Linked DNA regions of Homo sapiens: region 1 is linked to region 2. Evidence: promoter capture Hi-C in human tissues and cell types (Jung and others, 2019). All regions are on one chromosome and are shown on one strand. Each heading gives the region's core, a stretch centred on a gene start or on the middle of the fragment in contact. The rest is flanking DNA. Distances are from core to core; before and after follow the strand shown.

What was found. The method cuts DNA at HindIII sites, captures the fragments that hold promoters and counts their contacts. A contact is called where the count stands out against the background at its distance.
Region 1: a contact is called between a fragment that was not itself captured here and the fragment with the promoter of ZBTB47 in region 2, in 2 of the 25 tissues and cell types used here (H1 embryonic stem cells and neural progenitor cells).

What each region holds. Positions count from the first base shown.
Region 1 is chr3:42,610,475-42,617,355 of GRCh38, reverse strand. The region is part of intron 2 of NKTR (natural killer cell triggering receptor); the gene reads right to left. ZBTB47-AS1 (ZBTB47 and NKTR antisense RNA 1) reads left to right here. Exons shown (of 3, transcript NR_125400.1): 3 at 4,989-5,046. Among named protein-coding and RNA genes, the nearest start is that of NKTR, 13 kb to the right of the region's middle. The HindIII fragment of the contact is 7,266 bases long and covers 1-6,324 here.
Region 2 is chr3:42,649,948-42,656,653 of GRCh38, reverse strand. ZBTB47 (zinc finger and BTB domain containing 47) reads right to left here and starts at 2,957. Exons shown (of 6, transcript NM_145166.4): 1 at 2,771-2,957. ZBTB47-AS1 (ZBTB47 and NKTR antisense RNA 1) reads left to right here and starts at 2,266. Exons shown (of 3, transcript NR_125400.1): 1 at 2,266-2,660. RefSeq lists enhancers at 1-277, 2,342-2,983 and silencers at 1,857-1,936, 1,977-2,336. The HindIII fragment of the contact is 7,927 bases long and covers 1-5,296 here.

The DNA of each region.
Region 1 (6,881 bases), core at 1,442-3,941, 39 kb after region 2:
GGTTCCAGCCCCAAAATTATAGGATTTTAAGTGTGTTTTAAAGGAACTTTGTATTATTAGATTCCTCGTAGTATAGTTCCCTATCTGAACTATAAATCTTCTTTAAAAATACTCTCAATAGTTGTTTGATTTATGCTTGGGCCCTTCCAGTGATGAGAGTACATCAAAAGACAGTAATTCTGGCCAGTATTGTTAAGAAACATCTCTGTCTCTTTATTTTCAGCTTTCTTCCTTTAAGCAAGAACTGTTAAGAGCCACCTTCCTGAATTGCACCAATCACACTTAAAATTCACATTTTAAGCTGGGCATGGTGGCTCACACCTATAATCCCAGCACTTTGGGAGGCTGAGGCAGGGAGGGTTGCCTGAGGTCAGGAGTTTGAGACCAGCCTGGGCAACACAGAACGACCCCTGTCTCTACAAAAAATTTTAAAAATTAGCGGGGGATGGTGGCACATGCCTGTAGTTATTGGGGAGGCTGACGTAGGAGGTTCACTTGAGCCCAGGATTTCAAGGCTGCAATGAGCTATGATCATGCAGTGAGCTTTGATTGTGCCACTGCACTCTAGCCTAGGTGACAGAGCAAGACTCTTAAAATAATACTCCCCATCCTATCCCCTGAGAGAGCAGAAAGAGAAGAGGTTATGCTTCCCTACAACAAACACGAGATTACAAGGAAAAGTCAGCAACTTCAATTTAACTATGCCAGAGAAAAATGGTTCTCAAACTCTGGTCTCAGGGCTCTTTTAAACTCATTACTGAGCTTTTGTTTATGTAGTTCATATCTATTGCTATATACCATATTAAATGTTAAAACTCAGAAATGTTTAAAACACAAGAATACACAAGCACACATTCCATTAGGTGTCAGGGCAGTGATATCATCACATATTAATATATGATCTCTGGAAAACCTGACTGTATATTCACAAGAGAATGAGAGCACAAAAGGCAAATCATAATCTATTACTATAAAAATAATTGTGACTTTATGGACCTGTTGAAAGCGTATCAATAAAATAAGAAACGTAATTCTGATTTGCAATTAATTACTCTTCAGTTCCTTTCCCCTTTATTCTACAAGATCTTTTCCATTGTAAACCTTTTTATTTATTCAAAAGGACTTACAGAATAAATAAAAATTAACTGTGGACCAAGCATAAATCATGTTCAGAACAGACACAAAATGACTCTGTATCACTAAGACTGTATTGTATTCCTGGCCATATCGGTCAGTTCCTGTGAGGAGGAAACAATGATACTGCATTATAGACATCGTTAATGGGTAAAGCAGGATGGAAGACCTTCCTGTGTCAACATTCTTAGCCTATAGCTTTAAAAGAGCCAAACTATAAAGCAATTTCAAAACTTTGTAGCTGTTCTTAAAACCTAAGGGAATGAAGAAAAAGACGGAAAGCAAGCAAAAAGGAGGACTCAAGATTTTCAAGCAGGGAGCAGTGTATCTAAAGTCATTTCAGAATTAAAAAAAAACCCTATAATATCAGTAATAGTAACTATCACTGTATTTATATAGAAACATTTTACCAGTATAATAAATGTATTTTGATCAGTCCTCATAAATCTCTGGGAAATGGCTTAGCTGGTGTCAAGTTCAAAATCATCCCGCTTTGCATACCAGAACAGACTTAGATCTTTGCAATCCCTGTAAGATGGCTACTTTTCAGGATAGAAGACATAATCGAAATAATCAAAACATAGGGCTTTTCTTAGGGCCACAGTAACTTCAACATTAGGGTGTTTTTTGTTTTGTTTTTTTCAAAATCTTGTAATGCCTCAAAATGAAAGCTGTTCAAAGTTTCAAATGTTTTTAGTTTCTCCTTAACAGATAATTGGAAATTGTGTACCCTCCAGTAGTACAACACACACTTGAAAACAGTTAAAATGTGATTACATTCCTATCCAATATTCGGAGAGGGATAGCTAACTAGAGTGGTTTAAAAAAAAAAAAAAAAATCTCGGCCAGGCATGGTGGCTCACGCCTGTAATCCCAGCACTTTGGGAGGCCAAGGCAGGCAGATCACCTGAGGTCAGGAGTTCAAGATCAGCCTGGCCAACATGATGAAACCCCATCTCTACTAAAAATACAAAAATTAGCCAGGTGTGGTGGCAGGCGCCTGTAATCCTAGCTACTCGGGAGGCTGAGGCAAAAGAATCGCTTGAACCTGGGAGGTGGAGGTTGCAGTGAGCTGAGGTTGCATCACTGCACTCCAGCCTGCGCGACACAGTAAGATTCCATCTTAAAAAAAAAAAAAAGAAAAAACAAATCTCACCTCTAATATCTTACCCTCTTCTAGCCTGGAGCAAAAAAAAAAGTCTTTTGCCCTCCGAACCTCATGGCACAAAGGATAGAGTAGAGGTTTTATCTCCTCTATGGCATTATGTTGTTAAGAGCAAGAGGAAAAATACAACAAAACTGAATTGTTTTTGCCTCAATAACAAGGTGCAAGATTAAACCTGGCACATAAGAAAAATAATTTTAAAATCCTGAAAAAAACACATTAACCTAATTAGGTTTGCAAAGCATGGCAAAGGCTGAACTATGGATATTCAGACATTAGTTGAGACTTTCTTAAGTTAAAATGCTAGTATATATGCAATTTGAAGGGTTTAAAAACAAAAACCAAGGTCAAAAAAACAAAACAGCATTATGATTTATACCTATAAAGAGGTAACCTAGTATTAATTCCCTTCAAATTAAATCCTGAGATTGAACACTACAGGATACAGATCAGCAAATACTAACTTGAACTGAAGCTCATTAGCAAGATTAACAGGTTTTCAACAAATATTTTTTATTGAATTGTATGATTTTATAGAAAACAGGCTACCATGTGATGATACTTCTATTCTGAAACTCAAAATAGACAATATTCTAAAGGTATGGTCTTTAAAAAAAAAAAAAAGTCAATGTGGTTCACTAGTTTAGTTAGTAAATATTTTCGGTGATGGCAAGCATAAACTATGATTACAAAACATATTGAAGATAAAAAAATTAAGCTGTAGTTACAATAAAGGACAGACTTGGAATGAATTTGCGTAAGTCTCTCTGGCTCCCAAACTGATGAGAAAAATAAGTGTGACAGTAACCCCATCTCTGTAAAGAGTTAAGAACACCTGCTGATGATGCCTCTTTGGAAACTGCTGCTGACTAAATAAATAATATCTAAGAAAAATTTGTTACTCAACAAATACTATTTATAATTTAGTGGAATTTAGTAATCTTTTAGAATCAGTTGATACCGGCTGGGCACTGTAATACCAGTGCTTTGGGAGGCAGAGGCTGGAGGATCACTTGAAACCAGGAGTTCAAGAATCAGTCAATACTATTGATAATATTCTTATACATAGTTTTCGTCCACAGAATTAATGTTATGCCAATAGATACACAGCTCTATAATAAGACTAAAATCTACTGTTAGTGTAAACATTAGTATGTTGCTTTTATACATGGCTAAGGACAAAAATGACACAAAGCAGGACTAGTTTCTAAATTTAATCCGAAAATACCAACATGCAGATCCTTAAAAATAAGACAGGGGAACAATATTAAGATTAATCAGGTAATATCAACACATGTTAAGCTTTGACTACAGACAGGAAAAGTCTATGTCATGGTGTAGATTCTGATTTGGCCACTAGGTGAAAGGAATAAAATCACCAAGTACACAGATGGAATAAAATCAAACATCATCTTTCAATACTGTTCCTTGTTTTCAGAAATAGTTGCGCTGGAATTGCAGATTCAATGGTTTAAAAAGGAGACATGTATTATGTACATAGATGATATGGTAGTTGGAAAAGTGAGCATCAATTAGAAAAATGTTGCAGAGGTTGATAAACTACAGAAGGCAAAGAATAGCCCATAGAACAATTAATTACAAGCAAGGGGTGAGGAAAAGAGCAAAGGTTAAGAACAGATCACACTAGGTAGGCCAAGAGCAAAATCTAGGAAGAAGATTAAGAAACAGGAGCAGCATAACATCGGGCCATTTACTCAAATATTATTTACTGAGATCTTACCCATATGTCAGGGAATCCAACAGTACTATATACTGTTGTGCCTGAGTTTCAAGAAGAACGTAGTGCCTAAGTTTCAAGAAGCTCACATCTTGGCTAGGAATGACACATGGAAATGCAGCTGCTACACAATATGAGCTATCATTAGTATGAACTAAGGGCACTTATATATAACCTAGGTCTGACTGTTGTGTGTGACCGCAGAGAGATAGGGACCATGACTGCTTTACTTACCACTATATCCCCAGAGACTTACGTAGTGCCTGGTACAGTTAGGTGCTCAATAAATATTTAATAATAATAATACTCAAAACAAAATTATTCAAAGACAGATTTACAAAATACTTTCATAAATGAAGGAACACCCAAATATACAGATTAAAATTATTCACTACATACCAGGAAAAAATATGTAAGTGGAGCAACACCAAGATATCAATTAATAAAGCTATTTAGTTTTGGAGACATAAATGGAAAAAAAAGCCTCCTAGTATCCAGGCAGTAGAATCATATCGTTCACAAAGAAAAAAGAAAGAAGACCAGCTTCAGACACCTTATATTACAAACTGGAGACAACTGAGCACAGTCTACCATTTTTAAGGAATAGGCTGTGAAACAAGAATTCTATACCTAGCAAAGGAAATACATTTTATCCTGAAATATCTATTTGAATACATATCCCTGAGATATAAGTCAAAAAATTAATGAATGAGAACTAGTAGGAAGAGTGGCATTGGGCACTGAATATATTACATTACAAAATTAAACCTAAATCACTATAATTATGGTTTTAAAATAAAAGGAAATGAGGCCGGATGTTAGAGCTGCCAGGTATGACAATGCAAACAGTGTTAATTATGGTTTTAAATGTTATCAGTATTAGGAAACAAAGTTATGTAATGGCAAAATTTTTTTTATGTACCATCTGAAAATGTTCTTTCTTTTGAATAGGAAATGTTCTCATGACTCAAAAATCAGTGGAAAAAGGTACAGGATGAGAAGCCTTGTTTCCCAACCCTATCAACAGGTACTCACTTTCATTAATTTTCTGTGTATTTTTCCAGTTTCTTTTCATACACAAGCAAATATTGATAAATTCTTATTTTTCTTCCTTTAAAAAATGGTAGATTATGCACACTGTACTGCACCTTGCTCTACTAACATATCATGAACTTTTCTCATGCCTGTGATATAAAAATAATGTATTTTATTTTTTAAGAGACAGAGTCTCGCTCTGTTCCCCAGGTTGTAGTGCAACGGCACAACCTCTGCTCACTGCATCCTCAACCTCTTGGGCTCAAGCAATCCTCCTGCCTCAGCCTCCTGAATAGATGGGAACATAGGAGCATGCCACCATGCTTGGCTAATTTTTGTATTTTTTGTTGAGACAAGGTCTCACTATGTTGCCCAGGGTAAAAATAATTTCAGTTGGAGGAAGGCAGTGGAGAATCAATAAAAACCAACAAGGATTTGGACTGGTGAAAGAAAATACGCATCCTCATACTTCATAGTGGGAATCAATAGGTAGACTTTTCTGAAGCAGAGAGGAAATAAGGGTTTAGGCATACATTTTTTTTTTTTTTTTTGAGACAGAGTCTCACTCTGTCACCCAGGCTGGAGTGCAGTGGCACGATCTTGGCTCACTGCAATCTCCGCCTCCTGGGTTCAAGCAATTCTCCTGCCTCAGCCTCCCGAGTAGCTAGGATTATAGACACCTACCACTATGCCCAGCTAATTTTTTGTATTTTTAGTAGAGATGGGGTTTCACCATGTTGGCCAGGCTTGTCTTGAACTCCTAACCTTGTGATTTGCCCGCCTCGACCTCCCAGAGTGCTGGGATTACAGGCCACCATGCCCAGCCAAGGGTTTAAGCATACTTAAACAGGTATTCACAAGTAGAACTAACAATATTTTACATCTTTCAAGCTTCTTTGGTGGGAGGGGCAGCAACCTAGTAAAAGATATAAAACAAAGGAAATAGCCAGAAAAACATAAAATATAAGGCCGAAACAACTTAATTATTTAGCCACATGAAGCTTTTTCCATGACATGTCCATAAACACCCAGCTAAAGGTTTCCTGCAGATAGTACAAGCAAAAACTCAAAAGAGAACATATTTACTGGCTCATGTAGTTATGATGAGGATATTAGTGCAGATCAGAGAATCAAAGGGCCAGGATGTCAGGAAATGAGGTCAGATGTTAGAGCTGCCAGGTCTGACAATGCAAAAAGTGTTAAATACCACTTATTTATCCTGATCACTGCATATAGTCATAAATATTTTCATTAATGAATAAAACTAAAGATAAATTAATCACTTAGGAAGATAAAAGGAAGAATACCAAAATTTAGAAAAAAGAATTATAAGATAGTATACAGATAAAAAACAGGCCCAATAAAGAAACTAAAATGCTGCTAACTATCCAAAAGAGTGCTGCTATTAATTCTTTAGATATAGATGAATTACTTCTAATCTTCAAGTAACATTAAAGTGTAACACTATATCAACTGTTCTAGAGCACAGCAAAAGATGAAAAGCTTAATTTTTTTGAAACAAAATAAAATCGAAACCAAAGCCTGGGAGAGATGATATAAAACAAATTTAAAACCCCATATGCCAATCTCATTTTAAAAGAGACACTATTCAACATTAGGAAATCTACTAATATAGTTTATTGAAGTGAAGGAAAAATCCTATAAAAATCCCATGATAGAAAAAAAAAATCCCACGATAGAAACCAAAAGTGCACGGTGAAATTCAACATTCATATCTACTACAGAAACAACAAAATAAATTTTAAAAAAGAAAAATATAAATTAAAAAAAAGAAATTCAACATTCATT
Region 2 (6,706 bases), core at 1,708-4,207:
GCCAGGGCAGCAGCCATCCTGTGTTCCCTCACATCCCAGTCTGGCCAGGCCCCTGGCCAAGGCTACCATCTTCCTTGAGTTCTCCACTACACCCCTTACCCCAGCCAAGAAGCCATCCATCTCCCTCTGTCCCAGGCTGTCCAGGCCTGGCCAATCTAACTGGGACGTGGCACCAAGCCCCTCCCATCTCCCTCCTCTGACTCATTCTGATTCATCTTCTGGGACCAACCCCTACTACACAGATGGAGAAACCGAGGCTCAGAATGAGAGGGTTCCACAGTCCAGAGCCCCTGGACTCCCAGCTCCGCTAAGACCACCCCTTCCTTGCTAGACCCCACATGGCTGGATTTCTGAGCCTTTAATGACTTAAAAAGCGAGAACATCCCGCCACCTGGAGACCAGCCGTGCTTCCCCACACTCACCACTATCCCCTCTACCTGCTCCCTCCTCCCTAGAGCCACTGCACCTGCAGGTCAGTGAAGGATCAGGGTACAACTTGGGTTGCAACAGGGGCTCCTTAGGGCCTCCAGGGGCCAAAGACTGGCAGGAGAAGTGGCTTGGATAAGGGTTTGCTGAAGCCAGGCCTGTTGGGGGAAGTCCACCCCAGGCAACAGAGCCCCAGATCTCTCTGCTCTCCCTTTATGGAATGCCCTCCACTGCCCACCTGTGCCCACCTGCCACAGGGAAAGGGCAACCTTCCCATGTGCACTTTGGCCTCTAGGCCAAATGAGGCCTGACTTTGGCCCTCTGGCCTCTCAGCAGGAAAGGAGGGGAGTGCTTTCTCAAACACTCCATTGCTAAGGTAGTACTCTCAGCCAAGGCAGCACCATCCTTGGCCCTTGGGGGGCCCTAAACCTCATGACCTGATTGGACTCTCTTGACTGGGCACAGAGATGCTGCCCGAGTCCACAATTGGCAGCCCCTCAGCAGGGTTCAGCCACCCCCATGTCTGGCCCCTCCCACACAATGCCCACCAGCTGTGCTGGCCTCCACAGCCAGATGTGCTGGTTCCCGGAAGCAATGCGTGCCCCTCCCCATCCGGCTGTGCCAGCTGCAGTCCAGGTCACTCCAGCCTAGCTAAGATGCAGGACCAGGGAGGTGGTCAGGCACTCTGGTTGCCAGGGGGTTTCATGCCCTCAAACCCTTGCCCCAAGTCAGGCTGGGGATTGGCCAGGTGCCAGACATCTCTCCAGGCTGCTCACCCAAGTCAGAGCCTTCTACACCTGAGGGGTACCTTGCCTCACTGATGAGAAGCCTCATCTCTCTACCCTGCCTCAGAGCCTCCCTGGAAGGCCCCATGATGAAACCTGGGGAGTCCATCTGCGCCCCCCTCCCATGTCAATTCTTTCTATGCTGGGCAGCAGTGGGGGGGCCCAGACTGAGCAAGGGGGCACAGGCTCATGACCTCTAGGCTCCTCCTTTTGGTGAGGGAGTGTCCATGCCAGCCTCCTCTGTGCACTTACCTCCCCTCTTTCCCTTGGAAATAGACCCAGAGAGGGCGGGGGATCTGCCCAAGGTCACACAGGAGTTGGTACGGGAGCTCTGGGTGTCCTCCCACACCCCCTTGGCCCGGGTCATCCCGAATCCCCAGGCAGGGCGGCTCCAGCGCCCACGTGGCCCAAGGCCCAGGCGGGAATCCGACTCCCTCTTCCCCCCATTACCCAGCCCGAGGGCGGCGCCGTCCGGGCGCAGGGGAGCGCCCCCCTTCGCCGGTGCCTAGCAAGACCTCAGCCTCGCGCGCCGGCGCCCCCACCACAGGAATTTAACCCCCTCCCCACCGAGAGCAGCGCCACAGCGCCGCATTCCCGGCCCGCGGGACCCAGCAGATGGAGCCGGGAGACCGGGGGAGGGGGGAAGATCCCTCCAGCCCCTCCACCCGGGCCCGCGGGCCGTGTGCCTGGGAGGTCAGAGCTGGCAGGTGGGCGGATAAGCGGGGGGACAGGCAGGGCCCTGCGTACCATGGTGCCGTGGCGCTGGGGGCTCACAGGGCCCCGCGGGATCGCGCTGCCCCCGGCGGCCAGGCCAGGGCCGCTCCATGAAGCGCCGCGCTGGGGGCCGCCCCCGCGCAGGGCCCCGCGACCATGGCCCCCGGGGGCGCGGCCAGGCAGGCGGAGGCGCAGGGCCGCGGCGAGTCCAGCGCCAAGCAGCTGCGGCCCCAGAGCCTCGGGCGCGGCGGGCGGGGGGCGCGGGGCGCCGATTGGAGCCCGCGCGTCAGCTGGGGCCGCCGTCTGGACGCTTAAAGGGCCAGGCCGCCTGCGTGCCGGCGGGGGGCGCGGACACGCGTGGTGTGCGCGGTCCCCGTGCAGCCCGCCCTGCCGCAGGCTGCCCTCCACCCCCAGCCCCAGCTCCAGCCCCCAGCCCGTCCCCACTGCTCATATCCGAGCAGATAGACCCCGGCCCCACCCTCCCGTGCTGAGCCTCCTTTCTGCCGGGAAGTTCGTCCGGGAGTCAAACATCGCTGCCCTCCGGTTGCGCCACGGAGGGGGAGCCAGGATAGGAAGCTGCCGTGAAATCAGGAAGCTGAGCGCGCCGGGCCCCGGATCCGAACAGAAAAGGCTTCCACCCGCTCCCCTGAGGGATCCCACGCTGAGGGACTGAACCCCGCACCCCAGCCGCGCTCACCACCCCCACCCTCTCGCCTGGGCTGCTCTGACCTGGGGGTGAGTCTGGGGTCCCCAACTGGTCCAGTCCCCCATCCCTATCCCAGGGCGGCGCAGGGCTCATTTTGCTCTGTGCCTCCAGGACTTGGCTCCAGTGGACCCATACCTACCTGGCGGCCTCATGCTGCATAGGGCCACCCAGGGCAGGAGATTTAAATCCCAGGACTACAACCGCAGCGATCAAATCATCTAAGGTGACTGGCCCAGGGCCAGGAGACAGAGGGACCAGAGGAGTAGGGACCAGAGGCCCAGGCCCCACTGTGCCCCTCTAGCCGTGTGACCTGACCACTGCTGAGTGGCCCCCTTGCTCAGCCTCTGCTGGGGAGATGCAGCCAGGCTTGCGGAATGCTGCTCTGGCATGGACACCCGTGGGGGCAGGGGGCTGGCTCTGTTGGCAGGAGGCTGTAAAGGAAGGCTGCCAGGCTGAGCAGGCAGCAGGGTGGGGACCACGGGGCACTAGACCTGGCAAGGTCTGGATGGTGACTGGGCCACCATTGTAGAGGAGAGGCCTCTGTGGACATCCCCTCCTCCTACCCCAAGCTCACTACTGCCCATCCTGGGTCACTCTCATGTTGCCCCCATCCTGATATTCCACACCCCTCCCCACATATGTGCGCTTGTGTTTACATACAAGTCCATGTCCAGCTGCAGCAGTATCTCCTGGGTATGTTGTCCTACTCACGAGTGGGCAGGAACTCTGGCGCTGGCTCAGGGTGACTTGGTTCTAGGTGCCAGAGGAGAAATGGAGGAGAGACCAGGGTATTAGGCAGGTGCTGTGAAACAGCCTGATGGTCTGTCCTGTAAGATTGCAAGGGCCTCCTCCCCCACCCCCACTCTCTGCCAGAATACGTAGGGCCTCAGGATAAGGCTATCCCAGAGCTAGGGAGAAAATGTCTCAGGGGCCAAACCTGGGGCATCTGGAAGCCCCTGGCAGCTGCTGCAGACATCCTGTACCTGCATGGGTGCACAGACAGCTGGCCCAGCTCCCAGAGGCCCCAGGTTAAGGCCAGGCCAGAGCAGCTTACATGCTTCTGACCAGCTAGCCCGCTGAGGGCTGCCTTCTGCCTCTTCCTCCCCAGCCCACTTCCTCATCTGACTCACAGTGGATCCTAGCACCGGCCCAGGAGTTAGTTAGGGAGGGGCTGTGTGCCCATTGGTTGGATAAGGACTCTGAGGCTCAGAGCGGGACAAATCACTTAGGCATCAGCATCAGGAGCCAGGGGAAGGGGAGGTGGGGAGAAGGGACCCCTCCACGGGCTGGAAGAAGCCTGGCAGAGAGAGCTGCATGGGACATTGCTAGGCCCACTGCCAAGCCAAAGCTTGACAGAGGGTGTGGCCAGCGTGACTGAGGTAGTGATGCTGGCCCTATGGGGCCTTGCTGGGGCCTTAGCTCCAGCAGTCAAGCTGCAGAAAGGGCTGGAGGTTGGGTGAGAAGGGAGGGGACAGGTGGTGGGGAGGCACTCAGTCTCCCTGAAGGCCTCGGCTGTTCCCCTCTTGCTTCTCTGGCCTGCAGCTCATCAGCTGGGGAGTCCCAGGGCAGAGCCTGAGCTCTGTGAGCAGCTGTGGGCACCTGGCAACACTGGACCTGGCAGGAAGGAGTGGTTTGAAGAGCTGTCTGGTGGGCCCACAGGGCTGCTCAGAGCTGAGGCTTGAACTTGAACATTAACTAGAGCAATGAGGGAGTGAAAGGGCTTTCCAGACAGAAAGCCTGCAAAGGCCAGGAGGTGGAGACAATTTAGCATCTGCAGGGAACTAGAGGGGATTTGGTGTAGTGGAGTCAAGATTCCTATCGATCAGGAGTTGTCTGGTTGGTGGGAGTGAACAGGTGGAGCTAGGCAGAGGCAGAATTTCTCTCTTGGTCCTGATGAGGGGCATGCAGTAGGAGCTTCACTTCAGGGAGGTCAAGGCAGGCTTTCTGGAGGGAGGGACTGAGTTATTGGGGAGTTGACTCCTGGGCCAGAAATGCATGCCCCAGGGGTGAGTCAGGAGTCTGGAGACGCTCACCCAGCAAGGGCAGAGCTTAGTGATCCTTCACATATTTGGGATTGGGTCCTGACAAGGTCAGCAAAGCTATGCCCCTGCCTCTAGAAGACAGCTCATGGGTTTTCTCTCAATTTCCCTAAGTATCTACCCTCAGTGCTGGAGTGTCCCCAGGCTTAGTTGGGGAAACCAGATTCAACCCCACTGAAGTTAGAAAGAACAGCCCAGGTTGTGGGTATGCGTATGTGTGTGGGAACAATGCAGGACTGAGTCAGCCCGGAGGGCATGGAGCTGTGTGTAGCTGAGCCTGGGGAAGAGGGAGAGCAGAGTGGGCAATGCCAGAAAAATACAGGCAATGCAACTCAACTCGCACAGCATGTGGCCAGTGGGCTGGCAGGGAAGTTCAAAGCTACCCACTAGGCGCTGATCCGAAGCCCAAAGTTCTAGTAGGGCGGGAAAACATGAATCCCCAGGGTGTGGGGTGGGTTAAGGGTGGAGTTTACACCTGAATTCTGCCTCCACTGAACCCAGCACTAATAGGCTACAGCTGCCCTGGGTTGGGGGCCTCATGCAAACCGGTAGGTTGCCTGGTTCCCTCACAGCATAAACATCATGGCTTTGGCATTTCACGTCTCTCTTGCAGCTTCTAGGATCCTCTCCTGCCCTGTTGGTTCTGGGGGCCTTGGGCCTCTCCCTAGTGAGTGAACCTGGCTCCACACATGAACCCTCTGGGACTCCTTCACTTCTCCTAGAGTCACCACCTCAGGGGCCACCACCTCTGAACCACTGATGTATGCTTGGTTTTCTAAACGTTTAATACACCACAGTTCTAGGAGGAGGAATCCCTAGCATCCATTTTTCAGATGAGCTGAATTATAGAGGTCAAGCAAATTGTCCTCCTTCCAGTTACCCAACTGGGAAGTGGCAGAGTTGAACTTGAACCCAAGCAGCCTGGTTCTGGCCCAGAGACCTTAACGATTGTACCATAGCATAGTTGCTCATAGAAGTCCCCCTGCTTCTTCAAAATAAAACCAAATTAGGCTGGAGGCATTGAGGTCAGTGGGGACTCTTCTTAGGCTTTCTCTGGGAACCTGGCCTGATGGGAGATTTTAGTTGCTAGAGGTCCTAGGTGACCAGAGGCTGGTGAAGTGCCAGCCTATACACCCAACCCCTGTGGGCCAGGTCCACTGGGAGGCAGACTCGTCTGCAGGCTGGGAAGGGATGAGCACCCCTGGTTGTCTCTCATGTCTGAGTGTGCCAGTCATGTATACCCTCTTTCAGGGGTTTATGAGCCATAGGAGGCCCAGGATCAGGGCTCAAGATGCAGAATGCAGGTGTTTGTCCTGAGACCTCAGGTCACTCCATTTGTTGTTTCTCAGACAGGGTCTTGCTTTGTTGCCCAAGCTGGGCAGAGATGCAATCATGGCTCACTGTAGTCTCCACCTCCTAGGCTCAAGTGATCCTCCCACCTCAGCCCTCTGAGTAGCTGGGACTACAGGTGTGCATCAGCATGCCCAGCTGCTTTTTGTTCTGTTCTTGTCTTAATAGTCTTGCTATGTTGTCCAGACTGGTCTTGAACTCTTGGCCTCAAGCAATCCTCCTGCCTAGGCCTCCTAAAGCACTAGAAATATAGGTGGCCACTCCTTTTACCCTGATGTCCTCAAGGCTCTGGGCTGAAGAGATGCAACCCTCTCCAAGCTAGCCTGGGTTCTGCAGGCTGTGAAGCTCAGCTCAGTCTAGGGAGCTGGAGTTTGATGGGCTATAGTAAGTGGTGGGTCTGGGGTCTCCAAGAGGCAGCAGGCCTACCTGGGGCCTTCTGATTCACAGTGAGGAGTGGAGGCAGCAGCAAGGGAGCACTATCTCTACCTTGTACTGAAACTTTGAAAGAAAACAGACCACTAAAGCCTCCTAGCCCTGTGTGTATGTGGCCAGGGCAGGCTCTCCTTGCCTTGCACTTACCAGGCCCCGACAAGCTTCCCAGTCTGTCCTGAGATGAACAGGTGTTCTTTCAGGGTACCCAGCGTCCTCCCCTGACACCTCTGGACTCCTGAGGGGCCTTTACTGCA